Linked DNA regions of Homo sapiens: region 2 is linked to region 1. Evidence: promoter capture Hi-C in human tissues and cell types (Jung and others, 2019). All regions are on one chromosome and are shown on one strand. Each heading gives the region's core, a stretch centred on a gene start or on the middle of the fragment in contact. The rest is flanking DNA. Distances are from core to core; before and after follow the strand shown. Region 1 holds the start of LRCH1 (leucine rich repeats and calponin homology domain containing 1). Region 2 overlaps SUCLA2 (succinate-CoA ligase ADP-forming subunit beta).

Region 1 (4,106 bases), core at 1,290-3,789:
CCACTCCTCTTCCCCCAAATAATACTGTATTTTTGGATGAGGAATTAACATAAAGCCTCTGAATTTTAACCAGTTAGATTTTCCTGAGCATAAAACATGTGCAAGTGAGCTCATAAATAAAAACCTGCAAAACTCACAACTTAAGCTTGCCATAAACAAGCCAACAAGAACACTTTCAGCATCCACTTCACATGGCGAGGTCTTAGCTAAAAGATGTGATCCCTAAAAGCACTGGTCTTCTCAAAGAAATGCCAACACAGCAGACACATCAAGTTCACCTAACTTTGTAAATAATCCTTAGCATAACTGAAGTAGAACAACTATGAAGCCCCCTTACTGAACTACACAAACCTATTATTATTAGTCATGCCAGCTCTATTTTCTGCAGATATAGCCAACCATAGCATAGCTAGCTCACGGTACACTCTATAGCAGAAGGGAAGTAAAATTTAATGTAGTTTTTTAAGTCAGTGATTCAGGCAATTCTTGGAATAAGTTCCACTTGAGAAGATGTAACTAAGAGGTCTTATTGAAAGACACTCCCCAGCTGTTGACAGCTCAACTTTGGAAATTCCCTCTTTTTTGCCGATTCCTGACTATCCCTAAATCCAAATTACAAAGTTTAATGACCCTGGAGAGCCATCTTTGCCTCCAGTGAACTCAGAACTGTATCTAAATATTCATTAAGGCTCTAGATAAATGTTTATTGAATTAAAAGGGGGAAAAGACACTGGAAACCTAGCCTCCAAAAACCCACTGCCTGCTCCCTTGCCCACTACAAGATTAAACTGGGTGCTCCTGTGATGAGAGTCAACCCATCCAAGACCCAGGGGGTCTGACCCTGGGCCATGAGGCGATGACAGCCAAGAGGTCTGGGCAGCGGCTCCAAAACGGAGCACCCACTGCCCTGGGAAATGTTGGGCGCTTGCTATGACACAAACCCTCCCCCAGGGAGCGGAACCGGATGGCCGGAAACCAAGTCAGTTCTGTATAGACCCTAAGGCCCCAATCCTATTCCACCACCCTCCTTCCTGTTTATAGATCCCGCTCCTGGAACTCCAACTACCAAAGAGAAAGCAGACGTTTTAGAAGTATGTAACACATGACGTAACTTGAAAAAGTTATGCTGCTTATTGGCGCGAGTTACAACTTGCCGGGCTCACACAGGAAAACAGGCTCACGTTAATTACTTTGCCTTTAATATGCCACGCCGTCCTTTCCTGGGGCCCCCGCAACGGTTGGGTAACTGAGAACCAGGTAGCCTCGGTGGTAGGACCCAAACTGTGTGGGCGGTGAGCAAAAGGCACGGAAGGAAGAGGGCCGATCGCTTCCGAAGCGGCAGCCGACTGGGATTCACTACAAGCCCGGCGGCTCTTTTCCCGCACAAGCGCAGGGAGAGGAAACTTGGGCACCTCACAGGCGGCACCGAGTTGCCCGATCGCTCGGCGATGTCGCCGAGGGGGCTCGCGGCACTGCGCCGATGCCCCTGGCTCGGCCGAGGGCGTGCCACCTTTGTCTGGGTTTCCCCACCAGGATGGGCTACGCCTCGATGCAAAGACGGCTTGAACTGGTTGGAGGCGCCGACGCCGCTGTCCGCGCTGGAGTTCCCAGCCCTGCGCGGGGCCCAGGAAGCCGACACAGCCGCCTGAAACCTCCCACTTACACTGCGCGCACGCGGCGCGCCTGCAAGTCCCAGCCCCGCGGTTACTTCCCTGGCGCGGCAGCCACAGGGTGGAGAGCCGGAGACCCCTCGCTCTCAGGCGCAGAGGCCCGGCGCACCCCTGCCCTCCTGGCACTGCATCGCCGGACCAGGCAGGGCCCCCGTGCCCTCTCCAGGGCCCGCTTCTTCCGCGCCCACGCGAGTCCCTTCTTCGGGAGACAACGGGCCGATGGACCCTCCCTCCCCCAGCAAGACAAGATCTCCGACTGTCCACCGCGTTAGGGAACGCACGACAGACACCCAGACAGCACCCACACCCCTGCCCGCCCCTCGGCCCTCACTCACCTGCCTGCACCGTGTCCGAGAGGTCGTGCCCGGGGGCTGCGGTACGGGGAAATTCCTTCAATTTCCTGGCGCTCAGGTTCAGCCCCCCGGAGTTGGCCGCCTCCTCAAGCGCGCGCTCCAGACCCCGGTTCAAGGGCAGGTTGAAGCCCCCGCTGCCACCGCCGCCACCACCCGCCCCGCCGGGGGCGCCGGTTCCTCCGTGGTGCTGATGGTGGTGGTGGTGGTGGTGGGGATGATGAAGTGGGTGCAGAGTAGCTACCGAAAGGGCCGGGACGAAAGGTTGGGGTTCGCTTCCCGGCGTCGCCATCTTCTCCCGGGCCCCCCCACCCCGCCCCGCCGCTCCTGCGGGGGGGTCACAGCGTTCCCCGCGAGGGGAAAACGGCAGCTCGGGCTGAGTGCCGCAGTGCTCCACCGAAAGGCGCTGGAAGGAGGGGAGGAGGGTGTGGGCAGGCGCGTAGAATGGGGGGCGGGCGGGGAGGCGGCCGTGGCAGCTCGGTCTTGAAGGTTTCCTGTCCCCGGGAAGCTAAGGACTGCGGCGGCGGCGGCGGCGGCGGCAGCGCGCATGTGTCTCCTCCCGCCCCTGCGCCCTCCCCCCGGCTGCTCTGCCCTCCTCCGCCGTCTGCTCTCTCCTCCTCCTTCCCCCACGCAGTCTGCCCCGCCTGAGCCTTCCTCCGCGCCTATTCTGCCGGCCGCCGCCGCCTTGCCGCGATCCGCCCCGCAATCGGGTACACGGCGGGGCTGGACGTCTGCTCCGGGGCAACTGAGGCGCCGAACCTCTCTCTGGGCGTCCTTTTGCCGCCCAGGAGGCTTTAGGGGACTGGAGGTTGCGGGGATAGGGGGGTGGTCTGAGAACACGGATAAAACGGCGGGAGGCAATGAATGGGATTTACAGTACAGTGAGGTTTGGGGCAGGAGAGGGTTCTCTCAATTCTGCGATTTATTCTGGCCGTTTAACCCAGAGATCCCCAAGAGGCAGTTTTCATTCACTATGGGGTCATCCCTGCAGATGCCCCCTGGCATTTGGGCGCTTACAATGAACCAGACGCTTGTTTAGGGAGTCTACGTAAGTTACCTCATTAATCCAGGGACCCCAGGAGTGCCAAAGTTGTTCCCCTGAGTCTACAGAGGAAGTTAATAAATGTATCTAAGGTCACCCCTGCAGTTAGAGGGGCGCTAGATTCGAGCTAGGGCCCTCAGAATCTAGGGTTGCCCTCCTTCACAGTGTACCCCTGGGCCAGACGCCAGCGCCAAGGGACGAATACGAGTGGGACAGAGTGTTTGCTGAGCGGCAGAAGAAAGCTACAGACATAGGAAAGAAAAACTCAAAATGAGGGCAGTGTTTATGGGGGACAGAAGACATTGTCGTAGGAGAAAGATGAGCTGGCTGCTCCCCGAAATTGGGTGGTGCCAGGAGAGGCTAGAAAGCCAGTGACCCCAAACAGCAAATCAGTCACAGCTCGAGTCTGAGCTGAAAGAACCATCGAAGTCTCCTTGTGCCCTTCTTCTTCCCGCTTTGGGGCATGGAAACGAACATGTCCGCTTGCAAGTGAATTCACATTCTGCCATCAGCCACCCAGTGGCACCCAGGCCAATGCTGGCACACCAGGGGCGACAGAGAACATCTGACACCCTAAGGGCAGACCAGCTGGACGATTAATAGAATACCATTCCTTTCCTGAAGTTAAAGCTTCATGTCCAACTTTCCAGGGCCTTTATTTTTGCTCTATTCTTAAGGCTTGATTGTCCCCTATGAGCGACTTGGCTTGGGGAAAATGAGTCGGGGGGTGGGTGCGGGGTTGTCGGGGTGTCAAGCACGAAAGTAATGCAACCCTTGGAGTAGGGGAGCTGGTTTTTTAAGTGGTAATACATAAGTTTGATGGCCTAGACAACAGGCTGGAACTGGTGACTTCATGGACTCGGCACTTAAGTATGGCATGATCTGTGTCACTTGAATTGACTGCACAGATAGTTGCCCTTAATTCCTGCGGGATTCTTGGCCCTGAGCAAAGCATTCTAATCTGCCCGGAGGAGACACGCGCCACCTGCTGGTATCCTCCCGCAAACCTCCCCTCTCACATGCCATTCGCCGCAGCCTTCCAGG
Region 2 (4,487 bases), core at 786-3,285, 1.4 Mb before region 1:
CTAGTGCCTGTTGGGTACTTTTGGTCTGAGTCAAGTCTATTTAATAAATCACATTTACTACTTTTATTTTTCTGGTAAAACAACTGCAGTCTTCTGCAAATGAGTGGGACATTTTCCTGTGTCAATTTTTGACTTTACCTGAAATAGTTATAAAATGTGCTTAAGAATTCTAATTTTACTTCGTGTGATTTTTTTTAAATACACATCTTTATTTTTTATTTTTATTTTTAATTTTTTTGAGAGTCTTGCTCTGTCGCCCAGGCTGGAGTGCAGTGGTGCCATCTCTGCTCACTGCAACCTCCGCCTCCCAAGTTCAAGTGATTCCCCTGCCTCAGCCTTCCAAGTAGCTGGGATTACAGGTGCATTCCACGATGCCCTGCTACAGATCTTTATTATATCATGTGGCTGCTTTCTCATTTAAGCCTTTTACATTTAAGCCTATTTTAAGGCAAATTTAAAAAAATACCAACAAGAGAAGAAGAACTTAGGTTAAGAAAGTGAAAAGTAGGGCTGGGCGTGGTGGCTGACACCTGTAATCCCGACACTTTGGGAGGCTGAGGCGGGCGGATCATGAGGTCAGGAGATCGAGACCATCCTGGCTAACACAGTGAAACACTGTCTCTACTAAAAATACAAAAAAAACAAAAAATTAGCTGGGCGTGGTGGGGGGTGCCTGTAGTCCCAGCTACTCGGGAGGCTGAGGCAGGAGAATGGCATGAACTCAGGAGACGGAGCTTGCAGTGAGCCGAGATTGCACCACTGCACTCCAGCCTGGGTGACAGAGTGAGACTGTGTCAAAATAAAAAAAAAAAAAAGTGAAAAGTAGAATTATTAATATATTTGAAATTTCAGCTACTTGCTTGAAATGAAATTGTTTTGAAAGTTTATTACTAAGATTTAAAAGTGAAGCCAAGTCGTTTGAACATGAAATAGCTATTCATTCTACAGTGTTGACTAAATGTGGAACTATAGTCATTGTTTAACGTTTACCCATGCAAGTTGGTTTCTTTCTAATTGGTTGTGGAATTAAGACAAATAGAGACTCCACTTTCTTCTATGTATTATTGTTTCCTTTTTTTTCTAACTTATAACCAATTGTTGACTTAATTTTTACTTTAGTGAGAATTTAATATTAACTTTTCTCCTCGTGTTGCCTTCTCTGTGGCTTTTCATTTCTTTTACCAGTTGGTATAAAAAGAGAGTAAAACTAAAATGAAAAGAGGCTGGGTGCGGTGGCTCACACCTGTAATCCCAGCACTTTGAGAGGCCGAGGCGGGTGGATCACAAGGTCAGGAGATCGAGACCATCCTGGCTAACACGGTGAAACCCTGTCTCTACTAAAAGTACAAAAAATTAGCCAGGCGTGGCGGCAGGCGCCTGTAGTCCCAGCTACTCCGGAGGCTGAGGCAGGAGAATGGCGTGAACCCGGGAGGCGGAGCTTGCAGTGAGCCCATATCGCACCACTGCACTCCAGCCTGGGCGACAGAGCGAGACTCCGTCTCAAAAAAAAAAAAAAAAAAGGGAAAAGAAAACTAAACTAAAATGTTAGAATATTTTAAAGATTTGTTGGTCTGTACCTCTCCTGTTGAATAAAATTATATTTTATGGTTATCTGTAGATTTGTCTATATTCTATTTCAGTGGCATGACTAAAACTGAACCGCCTCTTCTTCAATCAGAATTTTTTCCTGCTCTTTAGATCTTTGTAAAAGCTAATAATTATGCACTGCCTTGCTAGAGAGAAAACGAAGAATACCCTTTCATTTGAAATTTATAGAGGAACTGAAAATTAAACCATCATTTCAAACATTTCTCTTTACTTAGACTTGCTAATGTTCTCTTCTTTAGCCTCAGAAGGCTCTGAATTCTTTTATTTAAAAAAGTTTTTTTTTTATATTGAAAGGAGTTCTAATACTAAGTGCCCATGGTTTAGCTAAACTTCAGAGGCTAAGAGCATAGTCCTGCACTTGATTGCCCTTACTTTAGACACCAGTCTCAATTTTGGTGGTCCCCAGGTTACCCTCATTTCTGACTAGCTAGCTACAAATTTGAGGGTTAATTCCTTAGAACGACTCACAGAGCTCAGGAAAATGTTAAACTTAGTATTACAGTTTTATTATAGCCAAAGGATATAAAAATCATAACCAGCCAACAAGGTCTGGGAGGGTTCCCAAACACTAAGTTTCCACTGTTCTCAGGAATGTTTTGTCTTGCTAGCATCTTAATGTGTGGCAGTATGCAGAATATTGCCAACCCAAAGCTCCCCAAGCTTTTGGTGTTCAGAGATTTTTTTTTTTTAGATTGTCAAAAATATAACAAAAAATTTACCTTACCCATTTTGAGTATGCAGTATAATAGTGCATTCTCAGAAAGAAAGAAGGAAGGAAGGAAGGAGGGAGAGAGGAAGGAAGGAGAATGTTAATTTCTCTTTTGGTAAAAGGAACAGAGTAAAACAATTTGTGCACATTTTGTGCAACATCTCCAGAACAGATATCCAAATCTTTTTTTTTCTTTAATTTTTCTAGAACTTTTTTTGTCTTACAAAATTAAAACTATTCATTGAACAGCTCCCTTTTCCCTCTCCCACTTCCCTCCAGCTCCTGGTAATCTCCATTCTTTGTGTTTCTAAAAGTTTGAGTATTTTAGATACCTGAAGTAGCTGTCTTTTTGTAACTGGTTTATCTCAGCATAATGTCCTCAAGGTTTATTCATGATGTAGCATATGACAAAGTTTCCTTATTTATGGCTGAGTACTATTCCATTTTATGTATATACTGCATTTTCTTTATCCATTCATCTTTTGATGGACATTCAGATTGCTTTCATCTCTTGGCTATTGTCAGTAATGCTACAGTGAACATAGATGTTCAAATATTTCTTTGAGATCCTGTTTTCATTTCTTTTGGATGTATACCTAGAAGTGGGATTACTGGATCATATGGTAATTCTATTTTTAATTTTTTTGAGAAGCTTCTATAATGTTTTCCATAGCAGCTGTACCGTTTTATTTAATTAATTATTTTTTTGAGACAGAGTCTCGCTATGTCTCCCAGGCTGGAGTGCAGTAGTGCAGTCTCGGCTCACTGCAACCCCAGTCTCCCGGGATCAAGTGATTCTTCTCCCTCAGCCTCCTGAGTAGCTGGAATTACAGGCACCCACCACCACACCCTGCTAATTTTTTTATTTTTGTATTTTTTTGAGACGGAGTCTCGTTCTGTTGCCCAGGCTGGAGTGCAGTGGTGCGATCTCGGCTCACAACCTCCGCCTCCTGGGTTCAAGTGATTCTTCTGCCTCAGCCTTCTGAGTAGCTGGGACTACAGGCGTGCACCACCATGCCCGGCTAGTTTTTGTATTTTTAGTAGAGACAGGGTTTCACTATGTTGGCCAGCTGGTCTTGAACTCCTGACTTCAGGTGTTCTGCCTGCTTTGGCCTCCCAAAGTGCTGGGAATACAGGCATGAGCCCACTGCACCTAGCTGAGCCGTACCATTTTATATTCCAACTAACAGCAGACAAAGCTTCCAGTTTTTCTGCATCCTCGCCAATATTCATTTTCTGTTTTTTTGGTAGTGGCCATCCTAAAGGGTGTGAGATTATATTTCACTGTGGTTTTTATTTGCATTTCCCCCGTTATTAGTGATACTGAGTATCTTTTCATATGCTTACAGGCCATTTGCAGATCTGCTTTGGAGAAATGTCTATTTAAGTCCTTTGCCCATCTTTAAATTTTTTTGTTTGGGTTTTTTATTTTTTACTTTTTTGGTTATTGAGTTGTAGAAGATCTTACATATTCCGAATTTCAGCTTTTAACTAGATATATGGATTGCAAATATTTTCTCTCATTTTGTAGATTGCCTTTTTACTTTGTTGATTATTTCCTTTGCTGTGAAGTTTTTAAGTTTGATAGAGTTCCATTTGTCAATTTTTGCTTTTTTTCTGCCTGTGCCTTTGGTATCATGTTTAAGAAATCATTGCTAAATCCAATGTCATAAACTTTTTTCTCCCTGTTTTCTTCTATGAGTTTTATAGTTTCAGGTTTTATGTTTAGGTCTTTAATCTATTTTGAGTAAATTTTTGCATATAGTAGTATTGGTAAGGGTCTAACTTCATTCTTTTGCATGTGGATATCCAATTTTTCTAGCACCATTTGTTGAAGAGACTGTTCTTTTTGCCCTCTTGTGTAGCTTTCCCACCATTGTTGAAGATCATTTAATCATATACCTTAGGGATTATTTCTGGGTTTTCTGTTCTATTCCATTGGTCTATATGTCTGTTTTTTTATGCATTATCATGCTGTTTTGATAACTGTAACCTTGTAATATATTTTAAAAGAAGTGTGAGGCCTCTAGTTTCTTTTTTTTTCTCGAGATTGTTTTGACTGTTCTGGGTCCTTTGAGATTATGTATGCATTTTAGTGTATTTTTCTATTTTTATAAAAAAAAGCCATTGGGATTTTGATAGAGATTACATTGAATCTGTAGATTGCTTA

Evidence for each region. The method cuts DNA at HindIII sites, captures the fragments that hold promoters and counts their contacts. A contact is called where the count stands out against the background at its distance.
Region 2: a fragment that was not itself captured here is called in contact with the fragment with the promoter of LRCH1 in region 1 in 1 of the 25 tissues and cell types used here (dorsolateral prefrontal cortex).

Annotation. Positions count from the first base shown.
Region 1 is chr13:46,551,603-46,555,708 of GRCh38, reverse strand. It overlaps LRCH1 (leucine rich repeats and calponin homology domain containing 1), which reads right to left and starts at 2,539. Exons shown (of 20, transcript NM_001164211.2): 1 at 2,006-2,539. The coding sequence starts at 2,312. RefSeq lists enhancers at 1,406-1,725, 1,382-2,082 and silencers at 2,286-2,345, 2,406-2,595. The HindIII fragment of the contact is 6,535 bases long and covers 1-4,106 here.
Region 2 is chr13:47,980,523-47,985,009 of GRCh38, reverse strand. All of the region lies in intron 4 of SUCLA2 (succinate-CoA ligase ADP-forming subunit beta), which reads left to right. Among named protein-coding and RNA genes, the nearest start is that of SUCLA2, 19 kb to the left of the region's middle. The HindIII fragment of the contact is 4,759 bases long and covers 1-4,414 here.